Linked DNA regions of Homo sapiens: all the other regions are linked to region 6. Evidence: promoter capture Hi-C in 16 types of primary human blood cells and fetal thymus (Javierre and others, 2016). All regions are on one chromosome and are shown on one strand. The core of a region is centred on a gene start or on the middle of the fragment in contact, and the rest is flanking DNA. Distances in the headings are between cores, read along the strand shown.

Evidence for each region. Contacts are between HindIII fragments. The CHiCAGO score rates a contact against its expected background, and 5 or more counts as called.
Region 1: a contact is called between a fragment that was not itself captured here and the fragment with the promoter of SP9 in region 6, in 2 of 17 cell types (total B cells and naive B cells). The highest score is 17.7, in total B cells.
Region 2: a fragment that was not itself captured here is called in contact with the fragment with the promoter of SP9 in region 6 in 3 of 17 cell types (total B cells, naive B cells and naive CD8 T cells); the score reaches 17.4 in total B cells.
Region 3: a fragment that was not itself captured here is called in contact with the fragment with the promoter of SP9 in region 6 in 2 of 17 cell types (naive B cells and total B cells); the score reaches 7.5 in naive B cells.
Region 4: a contact is called between a fragment that was not itself captured here and the fragment with the promoter of SP9 in region 6, in 1 of 17 cell types (fetal thymus). The highest score is 12.4, in fetal thymus.
Region 5: the fragment with the promoter of HOXD-AS2 here is called in contact with the fragment with the promoter of SP9 in region 6 in 4 of 17 cell types (total B cells, naive B cells, naive CD8 T cells and 1 more); the score reaches 20.3 in total B cells.
Region 7: a contact is called between a fragment that was not itself captured here and the fragment with the promoter of SP9 in region 6, in 2 of 17 cell types (total B cells and naive B cells). The highest score is 13.7, in total B cells.

What each region holds. Positions count from the first base shown.
Region 1 is chr2:176,154,643-176,157,342 of GRCh38, reverse strand. It overlaps HOXD3 (homeobox D3), which reads right to left and starts at 36. Exons shown (of 4, transcript NM_006898.5): 1 at 1-36. RefSeq lists an enhancer at 1,573-2,076. The HindIII fragment of the contact is 3,118 bases long and covers 1-2,700 here.
Region 2 is chr2:176,117,763-176,120,462 of GRCh38, reverse strand. It overlaps HOXD10 (homeobox D10), which reads right to left. Exons shown (of 2, transcript NM_002148.4): 2 at 526-1,509. The coding sequence ends at 1,232. Among named protein-coding and RNA genes, the nearest start is that of HOXD10, 2.3 kb to the right of the region's middle. The HindIII fragment of the contact is 2,499 bases long and covers 158-2,656 here.
Region 3 is chr2:176,068,091-176,070,790 of GRCh38, reverse strand. No RefSeq gene overlaps it. Among named protein-coding and RNA genes, the nearest start is that of EVX2, 15 kb to the left of the region's middle. The HindIII fragment of the contact is 4,486 bases long and covers 1-2,700 here.
Region 4 is chr2:172,970,155-172,972,854 of GRCh38, reverse strand. All of the region lies in intron 10 of RAPGEF4 (Rap guanine nucleotide exchange factor 4), which reads right to left. Among named protein-coding and RNA genes, the nearest start is that of MAP3K20, 100 kb to the left of the region's middle. The HindIII fragment of the contact is 818 bases long and covers 1,033-1,850 here.
Region 5 is chr2:176,135,809-176,138,508 of GRCh38, reverse strand. HOXD-AS2 (HOXD cluster antisense RNA 2) reads left to right here and starts at 1,411. Exons shown (of 3, transcript NR_038435.1): 1 at 1,411-1,888. LOC401021 (a long non-coding RNA gene) reads right to left here and starts at 1,897. Exons shown (of 2, transcript NR_148241.1): 1 at 1,510-1,897. The HindIII fragment of the contact is 4,739 bases long and covers 1-2,700 here.
Region 6 is chr2:174,333,627-174,336,326 of GRCh38, reverse strand. It overlaps SP9 (Sp9 transcription factor), which reads right to left and starts at 1,373. Exons shown (of 2, transcript NM_001145250.2): 1 at 1,214-1,373; 2 at 1-220. The coding sequence starts at 1,234. LOC102724194 (a long non-coding RNA gene) reads left to right here and starts at 1,351. Exons shown (of 3, transcript XR_427194.5): 1 at 1,351-2,587. The HindIII fragment of the contact is 13,141 bases long and covers 1-2,700 here.
Region 7 is chr2:176,173,652-176,176,351 of GRCh38, reverse strand. HAGLR (HOXD antisense growth-associated long non-coding RNA) reads left to right here. Exons shown (of 3, transcript NR_033979.2): 3 at 1-2,700. Among named protein-coding and RNA genes, the nearest start is that of HAGLROS, 3.2 kb to the left of the region's middle. The HindIII fragment of the contact is 2,951 bases long and covers 1-2,700 here.

The DNA of each region.
Region 1 (2,700 bases), core at 44-2,543, 1.8 Mb before region 6:
AGAGAGCCCTTTGCGTGGCAGATTAATGACGACTCCGTGTTTCTTAAGGGACGTGCTGAATTAATTATTTCGCCAATCACGTGGTCGGGACTTGTAGAAATCTATTCTTATCATCTTCCTCGCACTTAGAAAATTCTCCGGGTTATGAAAGGCCCTCCCCCGGCTGCCAGCGAGCCCCGGCCGCCCAGCCCGGCGCGGGGGGCAGGGAGGGCTCCCCAACATGGCGGGCAGGCGGGCGGGAAGCGCCGTCCGCCGAGGGTCCCGATTTACTGTACTCTATACTCAGCGGGCTCTGCTATGGACTCGCTTCCTCCTCATCCCTGCCCGCGATTCAATACACACAACGGTATTGATGTATTGGTGGGCACGGGAGGAGCCATTAAGCAGAAGACGGGCAGAGGACAATCATAAAATGTGTCTGAATATTTAAACTTCTGCCTGCGCACTTATAAATACACATGTCCACGCGTCTGGGGCAAGCCCTTCCATATATTAAGGACAGATGTCTGATTTTATGCATTCTGCTCATTTCCTGTCTGGAACAAGCACCCCCATCTATTTTGGGACTCCTGTCTTGGCCCCTTCTTCAAGGCGAGGCCAAGATGTAAAGAAGCCCTTGCGGTAAATGTAGTGCAGGGCACTTTTTATAGTGGGGAGTGTTTATTGTTGCCTGAGGGGTGGAGGGGGCGCGGAAGAAGGAGGGGCAGGTGCTGGAGTCCCCACAGGAGCTTAACAGTACTGGAAAAGTAGAAGCCCAAGAGTGGAGGCCCGGGGGTCAGGTCAGAGCAGCCACCCAGGAGCCTCAGCTCGGCCCAGAACCCAGCACGCTCTCCCTGCCTTAGGGGTGGGGGACCAGTAAGGTGTCTCATCCACCACTTCCCAAAGACTTCCTCTGAGGGCTTCCAGACCAAAAAGGTCTGGGGCCTGGCCCGGGCCCAGCAGAATGCCAACCTGGATCCCCCTATTAACCTGGGCAATTACTTTTTCTTCAAAAAATTAACACCCAACACTCTGTACCCTGAATTCAACCCCAGGCTTCCCAATGCTCACAAAATATGGTGGCCAACTGGGAGTGTGTGTACATTAAGGAGGTGGTAATAATAGAATTGCTAAGCCTTACATGGTTTAACCTTCACACTTTAGGCACCCCCCAAAAAATGGTGCCTAATTTATTGCAGAAAATAATAACTTGTTTATGTTAAATGTTAGCTTTTAGAAGACTTAACAAAGGATGAATGCTTCTGTTAAGGCACCAAACAGGAGGGAGATTTTGCTACACCTTTTATTATTTTAAATATAGATCAATGAATTACATCAAAACTACAAGCAACAATTAGTATAAATAATACTTTAATCAGTGGCAGCAAAACATTGGTCAATTCTATTAAAAAAGCATCTCGTGTGAACAGACATCATGGGCTGACTGACAGTGTCATCTCCCAACAAAAGGCTGCGATGGACAAAGTGAGATGGGAGTCAGAGGAGCAATGTCCTCAGCAAACACTTCACTCTCCCCCTCCCCCAGTCAGGACCCCAACACGGTTTTTGTTTTTGTTTTTAAAACACCAACACAAACACTTCTGGCTCATATTTAAAGGAACAAACTGGAAACAAATAATAGCAAATGGGCATTGGAGCTTTTCCACACCTAGCTTTCTCCAAAGCACGTTCTCAGATGGAAACCCATTTCCTTCCCTGCCCTAAGTGGTTACGGGGCCCTACCCCTTCCCTGGCCCACTCCTGTGGGCCCAAATGGATGCTGGGGTCCGACTGGGACCTCAGGGTTGGGGGCTGCACTCTGGGCCATCCAGGCTCCATTAACATTTCAAAAGAATCCCTCCAAGCTGAGAAGGAGAGCTGAGACTTATAAACAAAGAAGTTGTTTCTCTGATTAAGTTACTTTCCAAAGTAGTGGGGCTATGTTTGAGAAGGAGCTTGGGTTTTCCTCATGAAAACATGTTTCTTGGCTTTCCTCTGGGGCAGGGATGCAGTCAGTTAAGCCTGTGTGGCATTTGGTATGAAACTGGGGGTGAGTAACCTGAACTTCTGAGGTGGGGGAAAATCTATACAACAAATCTCTATTATATATATGTAATTGGATGTTGTGAAAATATATACCTTTTTCCCCTTCTCAAAGAGAAGGTTCAATGTATAGACAGATTTGGGTTTTAGGAAAGCAGCTTAGCAACTTTCCAACTTGCCTAAGGATAGCGGCTCCTTTCAAATGGTACATCCAAAGACTGCTCTCCATGTTAGAGAGGAAAAAAGAAGAGAAGGGTAGTTAGAGTCCAAAAGGTTAGGGGTTTAGAGGTCAGTCCTCCCGGCTGAAATACAGCTAATCAAATAGAAAATTTGTCCTCTGGATGAACCTGATTCTGTAATTTACCCGAACTTCGGTAAAATACCTTTTCAGCTTCTCAACGTGAGGGCGTCAGAAAAAAGACGTCTTGACTATGTATGAACTCTGTGCTTTTTGTCATAGAAACAATGATGTGAATAATGCACGAATATCCATCTTTAATATCCCGACGTGGTGACATTCAAGTATTGCCATGTGCAAGTCTGAGAGCCAGGCTCACCCCAAGGAGAAACAAAGAGCAGTCCCCAGGGTCTAATACAAAAGACCAAGGCTTGGAAGACACTTCAGAGAAGCGGAATTTCAGCCTAGGGACTGCAGTGAATACCTGCCCTCAGCTCTCA
Region 2 (2,700 bases), core at 158-2,657, 1.8 Mb before region 6:
TCCTGTAATGGAGGCCGGCAACTTCCAGGTGGGCAAGACTAGCTTCAACCTAGCCCCTGATGATTGCTCGCCAGCCAGAAATCACCAAGATGCCACTGAAAGCATTAAAAACAACACAACCAAAACCAAAGAGGAGAAAACACACAAATGGGAAGCTTTGAGGAGAAAGTGGCTTGGGGTATAGGCTTACTTACCAGGTTCAGGCCAGAGGAAAGCTCACACCCATTGAGAGCGCAATTATGTTACTATCACTGGGGACTGGGAAAGGAAAGAGGAGACTCCCCTTCCTCCCAATTATGAAAACTTCACTCTCAAGCTAGCTTATAATTCCTCTCCCCCAACCACTGCCAAAATCCAACACCCTAGGCCTCCTCCAGCTTTTCTCCCCCATCTCCCTTCCCCTACTAGTCTATCACTCCCCTGCCCAAATGCCCCAAACAGGGAGTGTAACCAGAAGATAATCTCACCATAGGCTTTCATTTCCACCATAACATATTTCCATTTCAGAAAGCAGAGGGAGTGAACTCATTTCCAGAGTTTATTGCATTATACATGCGACCAGAACATGCACAGAAAGGACAGGTTGCTGTTGTACTTCTACCAAACCACAGATGCACCACAAGGGAAAGGCTACAAGGCATAAATCGCCAATATCCCATCTCACCAAGGACAACTGCTAAATTCATTTGTGAAAAGATACATTGTAATGTGCTTTTTAAGTCCCCCTCCCTCCAACTTGTGGGTTTTCTTAATCTTTTTTTTTTAAATATATATGTCATTTTTAAAGTACTGGATGTATTCAAAATGCCATGAGTTCATGGACTAACCACACACATAGACCTTTTGTGTTAGGAAAGACATGAAAAAGTCACATTGCTGGATGGATGGATGGATGGATGCTCTACAGTTCCAATAAGTTAAGACCCAAATGAAAATGCGCAATAATAGTTACCCTGCATTACGATGAAAAAATAATAAATTACACGTGCTAAGTTTTTATATATATATATATATATATATATATATACTCATAGGGATTACAGATCACTTGCAGCACGAACATAATGACCCCAAAGTCACATTCTAGCAGGAAAACAAAATACAACAAAACAACAAACAAAGAGCGGTGAAGGTTTTGTTTCCGCTTTCCCAGTCCTCCAGCACTGGGCCCTGGAACGCGGTGCCCCCTCTCCAATCCTGGCCTCTGACCGGCCTCAGACCGGCCTCAGACCTAAGAAAACGTGAGGTTGGCGGTCAGTTCTCGGATCCGGTTCTCTCGGCTCATCTTCTTGAGTTTCATTCGGCGGTTTTGAAACCAAATCTTGACCTGCCTGTCGGTGAGGTTAACGCTCTTACTGATCTCTAGGCGGCGCTCGCGGGTGAGGTACATATTGAACAAGAACTCTTTTTCTAATTCCAGCGTTTGGTGCTTAGTGTAAGGGCACCTCTTCTTTCTGCCACTCTTTGCAGTGAGCCAATTGCTGGTTGGTGTATCAGACTTGATTTCCTCTAACAAAATTAAAGGGAGAAGAAGAAAAAAATCAAGAGGTTTTTTGTTTGTTTGTTTTTGTTTTTGTTTTTGTTTTGGTTTTGGTTTTGGTTTTCGTTTTTGTTTTTTTCTTCAGACTGTTCAAATGTACCCTTGGCCGTGACCCTGCTGGCAGCCAGGCCGCTTTGGAAAATGCTAGTATTAAACATTACTCACATGAAGTGGGCCTTGGAAGGGAATCTTACATTGATGCCACATTACTTAAATGACATGATGGCAGGACAGTCTGCATTTGGGTTCTCGCTCTCTCTTTCAACTTTCTCACTTGTACAAAACATTAGTAGAATAGTAAACTTTCCAGATCTCCCCAGCAACATTCTAAGGGTTCAGCTCCTAACAGGGACGGAGGGGAATACGCCACGACCTGGACAAGCCTACCAACCCCACTGCTGCCTCAGGTCCCCAAATCTGCCACTTCTTCCCCACCTCTCCTAGGCAGTCAGGAATCCTGACAGTCAGGTTTATAGGTGCCCATTCTCTTTCAAAAGATAAATGGGGAAGCGAGACACCTTCCCCCACCTTGCCTGGGTATTGTTGCATTCCCCAGAATTTCCTTAATTTTCATGTCTTCTTGCCCCCACACTAAAGCATTCCCCCAGAAAGGGAGCCCCCTACTGTGGCCCACCTCTAAGCACTGGGGGAGAGGAGGAGGGTTCCTTCTCAAAAAGCCAGATCCCTGGCTCTTTGCCTTAGCCCAGCCCTAAGGCTGGCCTTGCAGGGAGGGCAATGCGGGTTCCACTCTCCCCCTCCGCCTTTGCCCTCTTTGCCGACGGATTGCAAAGACTGCAGCACTTTTCCTAAACAAAGCCAAGGTTACCTAGCCCAGCAAAGGCAGTAAGCCCTGTTTCCCAACTCAAGCACCAACCAGCCCAGCCATCTCTTTCCCCTCACCACCCCCAAGCTCGCAGGATGCGGGGTGCATACACTTGAACACGAACACGGTGCCCTGGATCACCTTAACATGATCATTGGGCTCAAGGCAAAACTGGAACTGCAAATCTGAGCAGGAGAAAAGAGGCTCTGTGGTCGTGTTTATGAGCCGCAGGTCTCCTTTGCGCTCTTTTGTTGTGTTCAGGTCTAGCTCAGGAAAAATAAAACCGGCAAGCTTTTCCTCTGCCCGGGCGCCATCAGCGTGGGGCCAGGACTGGCGG
Region 3 (2,700 bases), core at 175-2,674, 1.7 Mb before region 6:
CCCTTAGTCAAAGGGAAAGAATGGAGGGGCGGCTCATTGTGTGAGGCAGTGACCCACACTCAGGGTCTGGTTGCTTGGGGTTTCCTATGGGAATGCAGTGTTGGGAAAGGGGGTGTCCAAGAAACTGGGGTTGTAGGGTACTGGTTTCTCCCCTGGGCCAGGTTCTGCTCACATCAATCATCCAGAATCCAGAACTCTTCACAGCCTCTGGATCCATCAAGAAACAAACCCCAAAATAAATGTGAAAGCAATGGCCTGGAGATCGCTCTAGTCCCTGTGCCCTGCAGGGTCTCCAGAGGAGAAAAATGAGGTGGAGGTGGGGGTGGGGCAGAGGTTTCCTGGGAATTCAACTGGATATCCAAGCAGAGAAAAACAAAACAAAACAAAACAAACAAACAAACCCAAAACCATGTGCACAGAGTGAAGGGACTCAGACCCAGAGAGGCCACGAGGACGGTCACAGAATGGTGCTAGTGACAGACTGATGATAGAGGCAGCACAGAGGTTGGGCAGGGGACAGGGAACTGAGGCAGAGGTGGAATAGGGTTGGGAACAGGCTTACACTCAGGGACAACAAGGTCCAAGACTTCAGGGGTGTGTGAGGTGACTACCTCAAGGTGTCCAGGCTCAAGGATAAGGCCAGGATGGAGCTGCTGAGGCAGAGCTGGACAAGCAGTGTTTGGTTACCCACAGGCCTCCAGACCTTAGGAGCCTGGGGGAAATCTTGCAGATTAAGGTTCTAACTGGCCTTCTCTTCTTGCTAAGGGTGCCTTTGCCACTCATACTCTCCAAATGCGAGAGGTTGTATGGCTTTGTGGTTGAAATCTCTGCTTAGCCACTCATTTGTGGTGTGACCACAATCAGGTTGCTTTCTGCCTCAGTTTCTTCATCCCTAAAATAAGAATAGTAAGTCCTCCTTCTCAGGAAGATTGAGTTAATACAGTGTGTTTAAAGCTCACACTAGGGCCTGACAGTAGAGTAAGTTGTATGTATTAGTTGTTCCCAACACTAGGAAGGAGTAAGGAGTCTGAGGACCTGGTCTTGCTCCCTCCCTCTTCTACGCCCATCCACCCTTGCCGGCTGCCCTCTGAGTCCCAGAGGCTGAGACCAGTCCACCAAATGCCTGTTCCCAAGAGCTTCACTTGGTCCGGGCCTGAGGCCAAGGGAGAAGAGGCAGAAGAGGCAAATATTCTGCTTCGACCTGTGCCCGCACAGAGTCAGGCGGTTTAGGGCAGGGTGGGAGGTGCCATGCAGCTGGTGCTGCTTTGGAAGAAGCTGAAAGAAAGGAAAATACCTTATCCTGTATTCATTGTGTCCAGGGCACTGTGCTAGGCATGGGGAAACCAACAGGGAAAGATAAGAAAAATAAATTCCCTTTATTTAATCCTCAGAAAGCTCTTAAGAGTTTCCTATCTGCCTTGTGCATTATGATTCTAATTTTATAACTGAGAAAACAGAAGTGAGAGTGGTTAAGCAAGTTGCCCAAGGTCACACAGCTAAAACATTTGGAATCCAAATGAGATGAGTCTCTCCCTTGGCTCAAGGTCCTCAGTCAGTCCTGTCTTCCACCACCTTCCTCCCAGGGCCCCTGCTGGGAGGGGCCTCAAGCAGAGTTTGTTTGGTGGGTGACTTCGGGAATGAGAAGGGTCATGAGCCCCACTGAGCCCTGTAGGCTCCATTTTGCCTCTCTTCCACACACTCCACTTCTCACCCTCCAAAATGAAAGCAGCAGGATGTTGGGCTCTTCCTGACTGGGGCTCAAGTAATCGATCTATTAATCTCGCTGCATGTTTTCTCATCTGTAAAATGGGCATAATAGAAGCTGTTTCGCTGTGTTGTTGTAAGGCTCACACGAAACAATAAAACCTTTTAAAGTTTGCTTGGCATGTTCAATAAATGGTGGCCATTGTAGTTATTGTTCCTTTGATCCCTGGCCCATGGCAAGCGGGAGGAAGCCCGCTGGGTGGGAGGTAGGGCTTGGGCAAGCTCAAGTGTGTAAGCCCCTCACGCCTGTTTCCTGTCTGAGCCTCCAATGCCACTTTTGAAATTCACGGGAAGGACTGGGACTACGCTTGGCGACAGCGCAAGGCAAGTAGCAGATGTGTGATACCGACCTGCTACAGGGACTTCGGGCTGCGAACGACGTCGCCAACAGTTCACCAAGCGGCCCTCGCATCAAGCGGAACGACGACGTCGTTAAAGCACTGTGGCCCGAGGTTCTGGAGGCGGGGCGAGCCCGGCTGGAAACCTCGCTGCCCACTCCACCAGGAAGCATCCTGGGAGATCCGAAAAAGTGGCCCCGTAAGATCCTGACCTTGGGAGCGAGCAGTTCGTTCGGATTTTTAGGGAACGGGGAGGGTGCAGATGAGGCGGAGTGGCTCATTTCGGGGCCTGGAGCCACTGGCCATGCCCAGAGAGTGCAGGCTGAAACATGTAGATGCTTCTGTTGAAACCTCAGTTTCCCCTCATGGAAAAAAGCCTGTCTATATCTGTCCTCCTTAGTAGGCTCTTGAAAGCCTCCAACAGACTTGCTCCTTGCTGGCCTTACCCAAGTCTTACTTGCCAGGGTCTTGGGCGCTCAGCATGGAGATTGAACACAGATGAACTCTGTGCATTGAGTACTGAAAAGTGGCGGTTGTCACTTCAGAGTTCTAGCCGCCTCTTCGGTGTAACTGGTCGCACCCCTGACCTCTATTCTCC
Region 4 (2,700 bases), core at 192-2,691, 1.4 Mb after region 6:
CTCTTGTCAGTGGTTTCCAAATTTTCTCCAATAAAGAGATCGACTTTAGCAATAAAAAGTCATTAAAACCTTGAGGCAATCTTATAATAAACTCTAAACTGTAGATGAGCAGCTAAGTTCATCCTCCCCTCTCCTGAATCTTAATCATAAAGGTAGCAATCCAATGGCTGGTTTCAGGCCATGTGGATATGAGGAATAAGAATAAATTGCTTTCATGGGGAGAGGCAGAGAAATGACCTACTTAATGCAATCATTTATTCAGGTAAATTCTACAAGCTTTCACTTGTGACGCCAAAATCTTTCCAGTAAAGACCAAGGTGAAGGTCACCATGCAGTGAAGGAAGGATTCGCCGTGACTGTCTTACTTCAGAAGCCTAGGTTCTTTCGGTCGTGCTTTTCTTCTCATCTGATTAACATTTGAGATGAACTTCGTAACTGTGGACATTCTCTTGACACATCCCAGCAGAAATCAAAACCCTAACCACCACCAATTTTAGGCTTGCTAATCTGGAATCCCCCGAAGAAACAAATCCCTCTATAATTACCAGGATTTTAAATTCCACACCCTGGAAAAGAGTTTAGACAAATAAAGATCCTATTAAAACAGGCACTGCTAATTAAGACACAATACACAGGCTCTCACGCGCCCTCTAGAGCAAGTGTGTGGAATCGAACAGCAGCAGGGTAGTCTCCACCCAGCCTCTGCAGGACAGCCTTGCATTAGGGCAGCCAATTAAGGGATAAACAATACCCTCCCCACCCCCGCCCACAGTATTTTGCCTTTATGTCATTTAATCCATCTTAAATTGTTGCCTTTCAACTTTACGCCCTATAGCATATGTTTGATATGAAGCCAATATATCTCACGTTTCCATATTTCTTAATGCCTTAGCAGAGTATGGGCAATAAGAAAACAAACAAAAAAACCATTTCCAGGACCTTTGAACATGCTCTCAGTTTTCAGGAGCAAGGTGTGTTCAGATGGTCTCTTCAAGACAACAATGATACTGGCAATTCTTGACCAACGAAGCTTGTTTTCTTTCCGTTTAAGTAAAATTAAATAGTAACTCCAAAGATTATTAGCAGATCAAAAAAAAAATGGGGTATGTGTGTACGTGCATGTAGAGTTGGACTGTCTGTCTCCTAAAATTAGATTCCTTACTTTTCACTTTCCCATCTCTCAGAGCTCTTATTCCAGCAGAAAGAGTCAAAAGAAGAAACTGCCAGCCCAATTCCAATGTTTAAAAAGTTTCAAAAAACCTAGGGAGATGGGAAAAATCCCAAGGGCAACTGAAATATTAATTTATCACATAAAATAAACGAACTCAAGTTTGTGTGTTTCTGACCCAGTTGGAAGATTCCCCAACTTCTAACAATTCTCTTATATATACATATATTTCTCTCTGCTCGGGCCCAAATGACTTTTCTCTTTCTCAACTTACTTAGGCTTCTACTGTTAGGCATTTTCAGAACTGCAGACCTAAATTTTGATTTGGGAAACAGTGTCTACTTAACTGTCCTCCCAACTTTAGGCTGGTCTCTGATAGACCATCCTGAACATTGGAACCTATGTCTCACTTTACTTGGAAGGAGTGGTTGGAAGGCTTGTACAGCAGAGCGTCCTGTCTCCTTGAAGCCTCTTTTTTATCCACAGTTGGCCTCAAGTTTACAATACTCTGTTTACCTAGTCACTCCAGATCCTTTTACTCATATTTCTCTAACCAAAGTACCTGCTCAAAGAAAGCCAAAATGCACATTTCTACTGGTAAGAGTACCCATTATATCTACTTGCTATAGGGCAACCTCTTGTTTTTAGATTTATAAACAAAGCAAAATCAAAACAATAAGCTTGGAGAGCTCATTCAGTGTTTGATGGCCCTGTCTCAGAGCTACAACAACAGCACCGTCAAACTGTCATCGTTCTGTAGCACTTGCCCCCAAATGCCATCCAGGTCTGCACCTGCGAAACCAGGACGGGCATTGTGAGTCACTCTGTCTGCCACCACATAAAAAGCTAATTTCACATGCAGAATGTATGTGTTTTTTTTCAATACCAATAGCAACAAGAGTGTGCCAAAAAATTTCCCCTGAAGCTCTATTCTGTTTTTTAAACTACAGAACATTCTTTCATAGTTTGACAGTTAAAATGCTGCAGTTAATGTAATAAACAGAGAATTTTTCTAAGTAGCCTGTCAAAACAAGTGACACTTTTTTTTTTTGCTAGCAAGTCTCAGATTCAGAACAATAGGAAGTACCTTTCAAAGCAACATCTTCATTATACAATCAAATTCTCAAAGTAATCTTCTCATCAAAGAATATTGTGTTATTTCTTTCCCAGTAATTATCAGAGTTCTGCAACCTCTCTGGCAGTGGTGACTATTATAAAATGCAGCCGTGCTGAGTTTAAAAGTTGGGGGTCCTGCCCTGGTCAGTATGAAGCCAATGCATCTCATGCCTCCACATTTCTTAATGACTTAGCACTTTCGGCAGTAGAAAGTCAACATTTCCAGGACCTCTGAACATGCCCTCAGTTTCCAGGAGTGAAGTGCTTGGTTGGTCCCTTCAAGGACAGTAGTGATACTGGCAATTCTTGATCAACTAAGCTTGTTTTCTTTCCACTTAAATAAAGTAGTAGCTCCAAAGATTATTAGCAGATCAAAAAAAAAAAAAAAGGGTGTGTGTGTGTATGTACATGTAGAG
Region 5 (2,700 bases), core at 162-2,661, 1.8 Mb before region 6:
GGCAGGGCCTAGAAGCCACTATCCAGGTGCCTGCTTTTCAATGGGGAATGTTTTTTACCCCGATCAAAGAATGACCTCAAAGGTCATTGTACTGTAGTAGAGAAATAATTACAAAATACAAACACTCCAAATAAAATAACAATCACTCAAGTTTCTTATTTGTAAGTGATCAGAGTTAGTGATCCAGGATAATTTGCAGGCATCAGCTGGCCACAAATCGTGGACCTCCATTTTGAAATGAGCATGATTCCATCATTAATTACGAAAAACACCTTTCCACAAAGATGACATGTTTTGTTCAGAAACTCTTTTATGGCCCACGTTGTTACATTGGAATTTTAAGGGAATAATAAGTTAGGATTTACCACTGGGTGCTTTGGGAACCATACCCTTGCCTTGCGCAGGCAGTCTCATGCGCAATGCGGCAGACTGTCCAAAGGTTTCATTTCACAATGTTCATGAGGGAATAGGCAATAGGATTTGCGAACTGCATCCGCAAGTGCCATTCAAAATCAGTGGGAGAAAATAGCTTTTTTTCTTCTGCAAAGGATTTTCTTTTATGCATATTGTTTCAGTTCAGCAGTTTTGAAGTTGAGGGAAGAATGTTGCAATGTAATATTTATTAGCAGGTGGGAAAAAAAACACAACCCATCAATACATTTAGAGAGCAAAAAGATCTACTCTTTTCCTACTCTGGCAAATAAGAAACACACGATGTTTCAACACAGAGATGTCTTGTATTTCTCAAAGATCTATTGGGTTTTTACCAAGACCTGCACCATATATTCTGATACCATTACCTCCCAAAACATGGATTCATTTTGTGATATAAAAGAATCCAAATTCACCTGACGGATTATCATATGCGGGAAGAGCCTATCTTGAGTTGCTTAAAAATTTCTCTAAGAACTAGAGAAACATTTAAAAATATTTAAAATTCCATCTCATACAACACAAGGCCCAATAAACCATCAACCCTAGAAATTAACCAGCATCAGTCACTAAAGCCTAGATTCAAACACCAAGCACATCCTAGAAACAGAGAATTCACCCCACCCCCACCCAAGCCCCAACCCTCAAAAAACACCTGTTAGCCTCCCAGGAACCTCTGGCCACGGCCACAGGTAAACCACAAAAACCACAGCTCTATATAAAATGCCTTTAGTGACCCCCAGCAAAGTGGAGATGTTCAGTAGTAACCCGTCTATACACTTTCCTAGGGTAGGATTGAGGGGCTCTCCATCTAGGCAGTGGGATCCTGTCTGTGGCTACCCGTATCTCAGAATTTTTGAAATAATACTGCCCCCTTAGACTTCTGAACCCAGCCGGACTCCACCCCAGGCCCCAGGGGACGCCCTAGGAACGAAGTGATTGGGGGAAGGGGCTTAGACAGCGACCCCCCACTTCCCCGGGAAATGTAGGGGAGCAGCCGGACTGAGCTGCCCAAGGGGGTCGGCGCCCCAGGCTTCTTGGTGGCATGCTGGGGAGCGGGGAGGGGGCGATTCTTACCCGAAGGCTGCCGAGCTACAGGCGGCGGTCGGTCCGGGCGTCTGCTGTAATCCACTAGGCGCTGCCCGGCTGCGCTCACTCTCGGACGCAGAGACCCGCTCATGTTGGTGAAGAAGCCGCGCCAGAACCGCGCGGCTGCAGTCACCTCGAGCAGGCCGGCTGCTCCTGGCAGGCGGTGTCGGCGCCGGCGGGGGACTCGGCGCCCAGGGCCCCTTCCAGGCCCTCCCTCGCCGGGCTCCCCACCAGCTCCGGAGGTGGCGGCGATGCGGACCGAGTGAGCGGCGGTGGGGCCAGGCCGGGCGCCGGGCGGGAGCCGAGGCCGCGGCGGACTCCGCAATCCCGCAGCCGGTGACTGGAGCCCACCTCTGCAGAGACAAAGGTTAGAAAAAGAGGGGGTGAGGCTCTGGGAAAGCAGAATGCGGGGGGAAATTCGCCGGGGAAATCAGGAAAAAGGCCGTGAAGGCGAGCGGCGCCTGCACATGACCAGCCGCAGCCAATGACGACCGCAAATAGGTCATAAAAAGGTCTATTACCAAGTTGTAAATTTTCTTCAAACAAAAAGGAATTTACTGCAATTCCTTGCGGATTTTGCACATACAGCTCGCAAGCGCCATGTTTTTTCCTCTTCTGCTTTCTCTCTCCCCCGCCTCCTCTCTTCCTTCTCCTCCTCCTCTCTCTCTCCATTCTCTCTCTCCTTCCTCCCTTCTCTTTCTCTGTCCCTCTTCACCTTTCCCTTTTTCTTCCCTTCGTGGTTCTTCCCTCCCTCCCCGCCTCCTCTGTTTCTTTTTCTAGGATTTATTTGTGTGTGTGCGTGTGTGTGTGTGTGTGTGTGTGTGTGTGTGTGTGTGTTCTTTTCTTTGGTTTGGCTCAAAACCTCTGCGCAGTTGGCCATCGTGAAGGAGGGAAATGAACTCAATGTACTGCTCACGCTCTGGGGAAGCGATCCCCACAGCTACCTCCTCCCATCTCTCACCCTGTGCTAGTCACTTGGCTTCTCCTCCTCTCCCCTCAGGAAAAGGCCTGTCCCCAGAGGCAGCCAACCACTTTCGGTTTCCCCTCCTCCCTCTCATCTTGCAAGCCAGCCCCAGTTACCTTGGGAAGAAAACGAGGGATCTGCAGGCCAAGAAAATGTGCCCCCAACACACCACTCCAACATAAATTGGGGTCCCTCCCATTCCCGGGAGGTTCTGC
Region 6 (2,700 bases), core at 124-2,623:
CGCCCGCCAGGCCGCCCGAGCCACGGCCCCCGGTGGCCACCGCGAAGCCCGAGAGGCTGGAGCCGAGGTTGCAGCTGGACGAGGAGCGCTTCCAGGGGTGAAAGCCGCCTTTGGCGAAGGCGCTCGACTCTGGCAGCGTCGTCAGCGGGCTCGTGTTGCCGATCTTGTTGCAGGTCGCCGCCAGCATGGCCAACGGGGTCGTTCCGAAGCGCGGCTCTTCCTAGAGTGGGTGGGATGGGGGAGGGAGCAAGAAGGAGGAGGGCAAGAGGAAGTGGGGGAAGAAACAAAGTGCACCCGTGAGCAGCCTCGTCCCCTGCGGCTGCTCCCGGGGGGTCCTGGCTCCCCGCCTCGCGCCTCCTCCCCACGCGCCCGCGGAGGAGTCGCCGCACCGGGCGCGGAGCAGGGGCGATCACCCGGGCGAAGGTCCAGGCGCCGGAAAGTTGCACTTCGCTGAGGCTATAAATCAAAGATGCCTCCGTGTTCCCCGCTGCAACCCTGCCTACAACCGGACTTGGGTTGTCGCCGTAAACCGGCTCATCTCCCAGAAGACCCCAAGTCGCCCTTCGGGGTGAAGCGCGAAGGTAAACACAGAGACCAGAGACAACAAACACCGGGTGAGGGCGGAGGCGGCCGAAACAGCTGCCAGGGACGGGCGAAACTTGCAGCTCTCCCAGGGTGGCTACGACTTGACTTTTCTTTTTTAATAGAAAACGTTTGGTTTTAAAGTTTACATACACACAAAAACAGCGATTATGAAAACAATAATCCGAGGATAAGCGGCCAGAGACAGATTTCAAAGTCATGGGCGAATTGGGGAGCCGCGGAAATGTAAATGTTTATTAGCGTGACTAGATGGACTGCAAAACGATTAAGACTGTTTTCTGGAAACACCATTGTCGCATAATTGCAACAAAATCCCCAAAGCAATGCGGGGGATGGGGTATAAATCACGAGGGGAAGAAAAGAAACCTCTAGCTTTTTTTTGAAACCAAATGAAAAAGGACTTGATTAAGAAGGCCTTTTCTTGCAAAGGCATCTTTCTGGGTTCCAAAAACTTGGGGAAAAATCAGTCCCAGAAATGTGGAAAGTGCTAATAGAAGCTGAAGCTGCAGTCTAGCAGCAACAGTTTCTCCGGAGCCGCAGACCCCAGAAGCCATAACGAAAAATTACTCCGGTTAAAACAAGCAAATGCGTTGCCGCGCTTGCGACTTACCCCGAGTATAGACGTGGCCATAGCAGGTCTCTGGCTGCGCAGCGAGGCTGGGAGCGGGGCTGAGCCTGGCGGCTGCTCGGAAAAACTGCTTGGGTCCCGCGCGGCTCCCGCGTCCCCGCGCTCGTGCCGAGCGGACTCCAGGCTCCCGCCGGCTAAACTCAGCCTAAGTGCGAGGAGCACCCGCTTTGAAGTGCCGCTGGCTGCGCCTCTCGCCCAATGAGGGCGCAGGCAGAGCAGACCGGAGCTGCCCCGCAGCCAATCAGACGCTCCGAGGGGCCCGAGCCCGGGCTCCCGGCGCGTGCCAGTCAAGTCAGCTAGCTAGGGCCGCGGGGGTGGGGGGGAGTAGTGGGGGATACTTGCGGGGGGGGGGCGAGGGCGGGCTGGGGACTGAAGAAATTACAGTGCAATTAAAAATTTACACTCACGCACCAAGCCAGGTTTAAGTACCAATGAAACCGAGCCACAAGCACCCCCCCACACACAAACCACCCCGAGATGTTGCAAGTTAGGGCTGACAGTCCTACTCGACTCCCCACTTGTAGGAAAGGAGGCAGGAGGGGAGGAGACACCCAGACACAGCCCGCACCAGCAGGGCCCAAGTGGAGACGGAAATGTGAGCCCTCACTTTGTGTGTCCAGGCTTTTGCCTACAGAACACAACTTCAGCTTGTATCTATCATTCTTGCTTGTGATTTTTATCATTTTCGTGTGTCTTCTACCCAATTCCTTATTCCACTAGATTCAATTTCACTCTCACAGTTATACTGGGGAGGGGGCGCGAAGGGACAGCTCCTCCGAGAGGAGCGAAATAGGCCTCTCTGTACAGATCTACATCCACAGATTTGTTGGGAGGGCCTGGAGCCTGCTGCATCCCGCCATTTCCCCCCAGCGGTGTAAGTGACTTCCTAATTGTCGCTCTGGCCTCTGACCCGGGGGGTAATACAAGTGCCACTCACGCTAGAGGCTTCTGGTGGTAATTGAGGGCACCCTTTGTACGGTTTCGCCAGCGCTTAGATACCAGGTTAACCCAGTTGTCAAATATGACTAAACAGTGGGATGTGCTGATTATCTGCCGGGTTTTGCTGTGGGCTGGCATGGGGGTGGGAGGCATCAGCCCATACAACACGCTGCACGAAGCCGCTTATTTTCTCACTGTAACAACTTTGGAAACAGAGACCGGCGCGAGCGGCGTCCGCCCCCACCTCCACCTCCGCTGAAGCTGCAGCTTGCTCGGCTGTTTGTTTAACCCGGTGAAGATTTGCATGTCGCGTTTCATCCTGGAGTGGAGTTTTCTTGTCCCAGCTCCAACCCACTCCCATTCCAGACCACCAGGGCCTAGAGGCTCGTCCGTAGGGCAAGTGCGCTGTTTTAAGAGGTAGGCTCCCCATTAGTGCCCTGCTTTCACGGACGCGCCCGAGAAATCTCTCCAGGACTTTCACCCGGGAGGGCGGAGGACCAGGCCACACGTGGGCGCTTCCACATTTTGCA
Region 7 (2,700 bases), core at 57-2,556, 1.8 Mb before region 6:
CAAGGGCCAGTGGGCTGGTACAGACTAGGGAAGAGAAAAGGGACAAAGGCTGCTAGTATAGGTAATCACTATCTTTTAATACTCCTAACACATAGAAATTCGAAAAATCTTGTTCAGCAATGTTAGCAGCCTGTGAGCCTCGGAAACTAATTTGGCTGATGTGTCTCTGATAGGGAGCTTGGGGCTGCACCAAGGGGAAACATTCTCCTCCTGTATTCTCTCCTCTCTCTCGTTTGAAAGCCTGTACAAAGAAATGGTACAAATGGATGGTTAACTTAATGATTCCATCAGAGGCAGATTTTTCTCTGTCAGGTCCCTGGATAAGGTGGAGGTCTGAAAGCCAGGAGACAGAATATGTACTTAATCGCCCTTTCTGACCTGCTTACCAGTGACCAGGACTACTCTCCAGGCCTTTCTTCTGCCACTTCCCCATTCTTCCTGGCTAGTTCAGTTGGGTCTCAGCACTTCAACTCCTGGCTGGATCCTGAGTTTTTCTTGGTTGCAGGGAAAGCTCTCACTGTCTGCATCTCCTTCCCCACCCCCACCTCCCGTTTTGCAGCTGGCCATTCTGGCTGCCTCACAGCTATCCTGCCTTAATTCATATTTGATTGCCTGGACAGAACCACCTAGAATGTCCAGACGACTGCCACCCCTCAGCCATGGGCCTGAGATCCTGCCCTGACCCCTTTCTTCAGACCCCAGGAGGACCCACAATCTCCCTGATCCCCACCTTCCCCAAAGTAGTCTCTAGGAAAAAAGCAGAGCTGGCTAAGGCCTGAGACAGAGCCATTTCTTCCCCTTGGGCAAACGAGGTAGACCCTCCCAGAGACCAATGCCGGAGAGGCCCGGATCCGAGCTCCCTTTATATGGCCTCCCCCATCACGGATCCCGTGGGAAAACCTGACACACAATGGCGCGGCTGCTCCGGGCACCCTCAACCCAGCGCCCTGCGGCAAGGCCTGGAGCAGCCTGGTGGTCTTGGTGCGCTCCCTTTGCCCTCCCCGCAACCCTCTGCGAGCACTCGTCCCAGGAGAGAGACCCTGGCTAGGGTGGAGGTTGCCTCCCGCAAAGGGCGCTGTTGCTGGGGCCTCCCCTCCCCCATTCTCTTGTTTTTCTGCTTCTGAGACTCGGGAGGGAGGCGGCAGGCGCCTCCGCAGCCGATAGAGCAGCTATTGTGACCTTCCCTTGCAGAGCGGGAACCCAGCCGAGTGTGTACCGCCGGCGGTGGCGGGGGAGGAGGCGACTGTGTGTGCAAACCTCAGTCGGAGAGGGGGTGGCGCTGGGAAATAAAGGTTTGCAACCTCAGGCAGTTGGGCCCTTCAGAGGGCGTTTGGTTGTGTTTAGACTCGGTTGCTTTCTAACACTAATTGCAGGCTCAAAAGGAGCGGAATTTATTGCGAAGGCCAAGGCGGCTTGTTTATAATTTATGAAGTTTTAAATGGCTGTGCCGCGGGCCCCAACTTTCTCCTGGGCTGGCAGCCGCGCGGAAACGCGCCCTCCCCCGGCTCGCCGCCCACCCCCACCCACGCCCCTCAGATGAGTCTCACGCCAATGGCAGGAACAGATCCGAGCTATTAGAAGTCTCGGGAACCTCCAGAGATGACAGAAGGTGGCAGATTTGGTCCAAGCCCTCACCCCACTCGAGAGGAGGGCGTCGGGGAAAGCTGTGGCTGCCTGGAGAGGGAGCCCCTGATCCCACACTTCCTTGGAGCCTGAGTGTGAGAGGAAGCTAATGTCAGCCGGGCTAGACACCGTTTAAAGTCTAATCCATGAAACCCTAAGCCGCAAATGACACTTGGGGCTTTGCAGACACCCGCAGACTCAGCAGATACTCCTGCGGTAACACACTGTGCTGGAAAACGCCTGGAGCCATGACACATTACGTATTTTTATTATTATTTATGGTAGGAAGAGGAGATGAGGGAAAATCGGGCTGAATCTAAGCAGCCTGACAATTCAGCTAGTTAATATTTAGCCAGTTAAGAAAGGTGGTTGTAATCCCTGCAAGGCAGTGAGCTCTCCTTTGATTTCTCTAATAGCTTAAAAAATAATTTCTTACAAGACAATTAGAAATTCTGCCTATGGATGCAAATTTCATAGAAAACAATGTTAAGCCTTGAAAGTGGGTAAAATGTGCCTTCGATTGAAGTCATTTATTCTGTTGATACACTTCTACAACATATATATTTTAAACCTGCTCAGATAAAGTGAAATTTAGCAAAAGGATATCCCCTCCCACCCCCAAATCTAACATGCCATTTTAAAAACAGCACAAAGGAACAAGGAAACTAAATATTATTTTGAGCCATCATTACTTAGTGAAATACAAACATCCAAATAGAAACGATTGTTGTTCCACCAGAAGATTAGAAGTTAAATTATTTCCACACAATAGGAATTTCACTTCGTGTCATCGGGGATGTAGTAGGAGTTGCATTATTTGTCAAACCAAATAGAGATGCGTGGGCTGACTTTGCTGAAATACAAAAGAATTGAACCTTATCTGAAGGCGTTTTCTAAGTGGCCCCTCCCATAGAAGCCGGGAAGTTGTCCACCCCTAGCAGAAGCCACATTAATATTTACAAAATGGTTATAAATCCTTGAAGACATTTTTGCCCATTTTGTATAAGAAACAGGAGTAAACAAGGTGTTTATACTTGTTATGTTTCATTAATGAAATATTATTACTTTACATCTTGG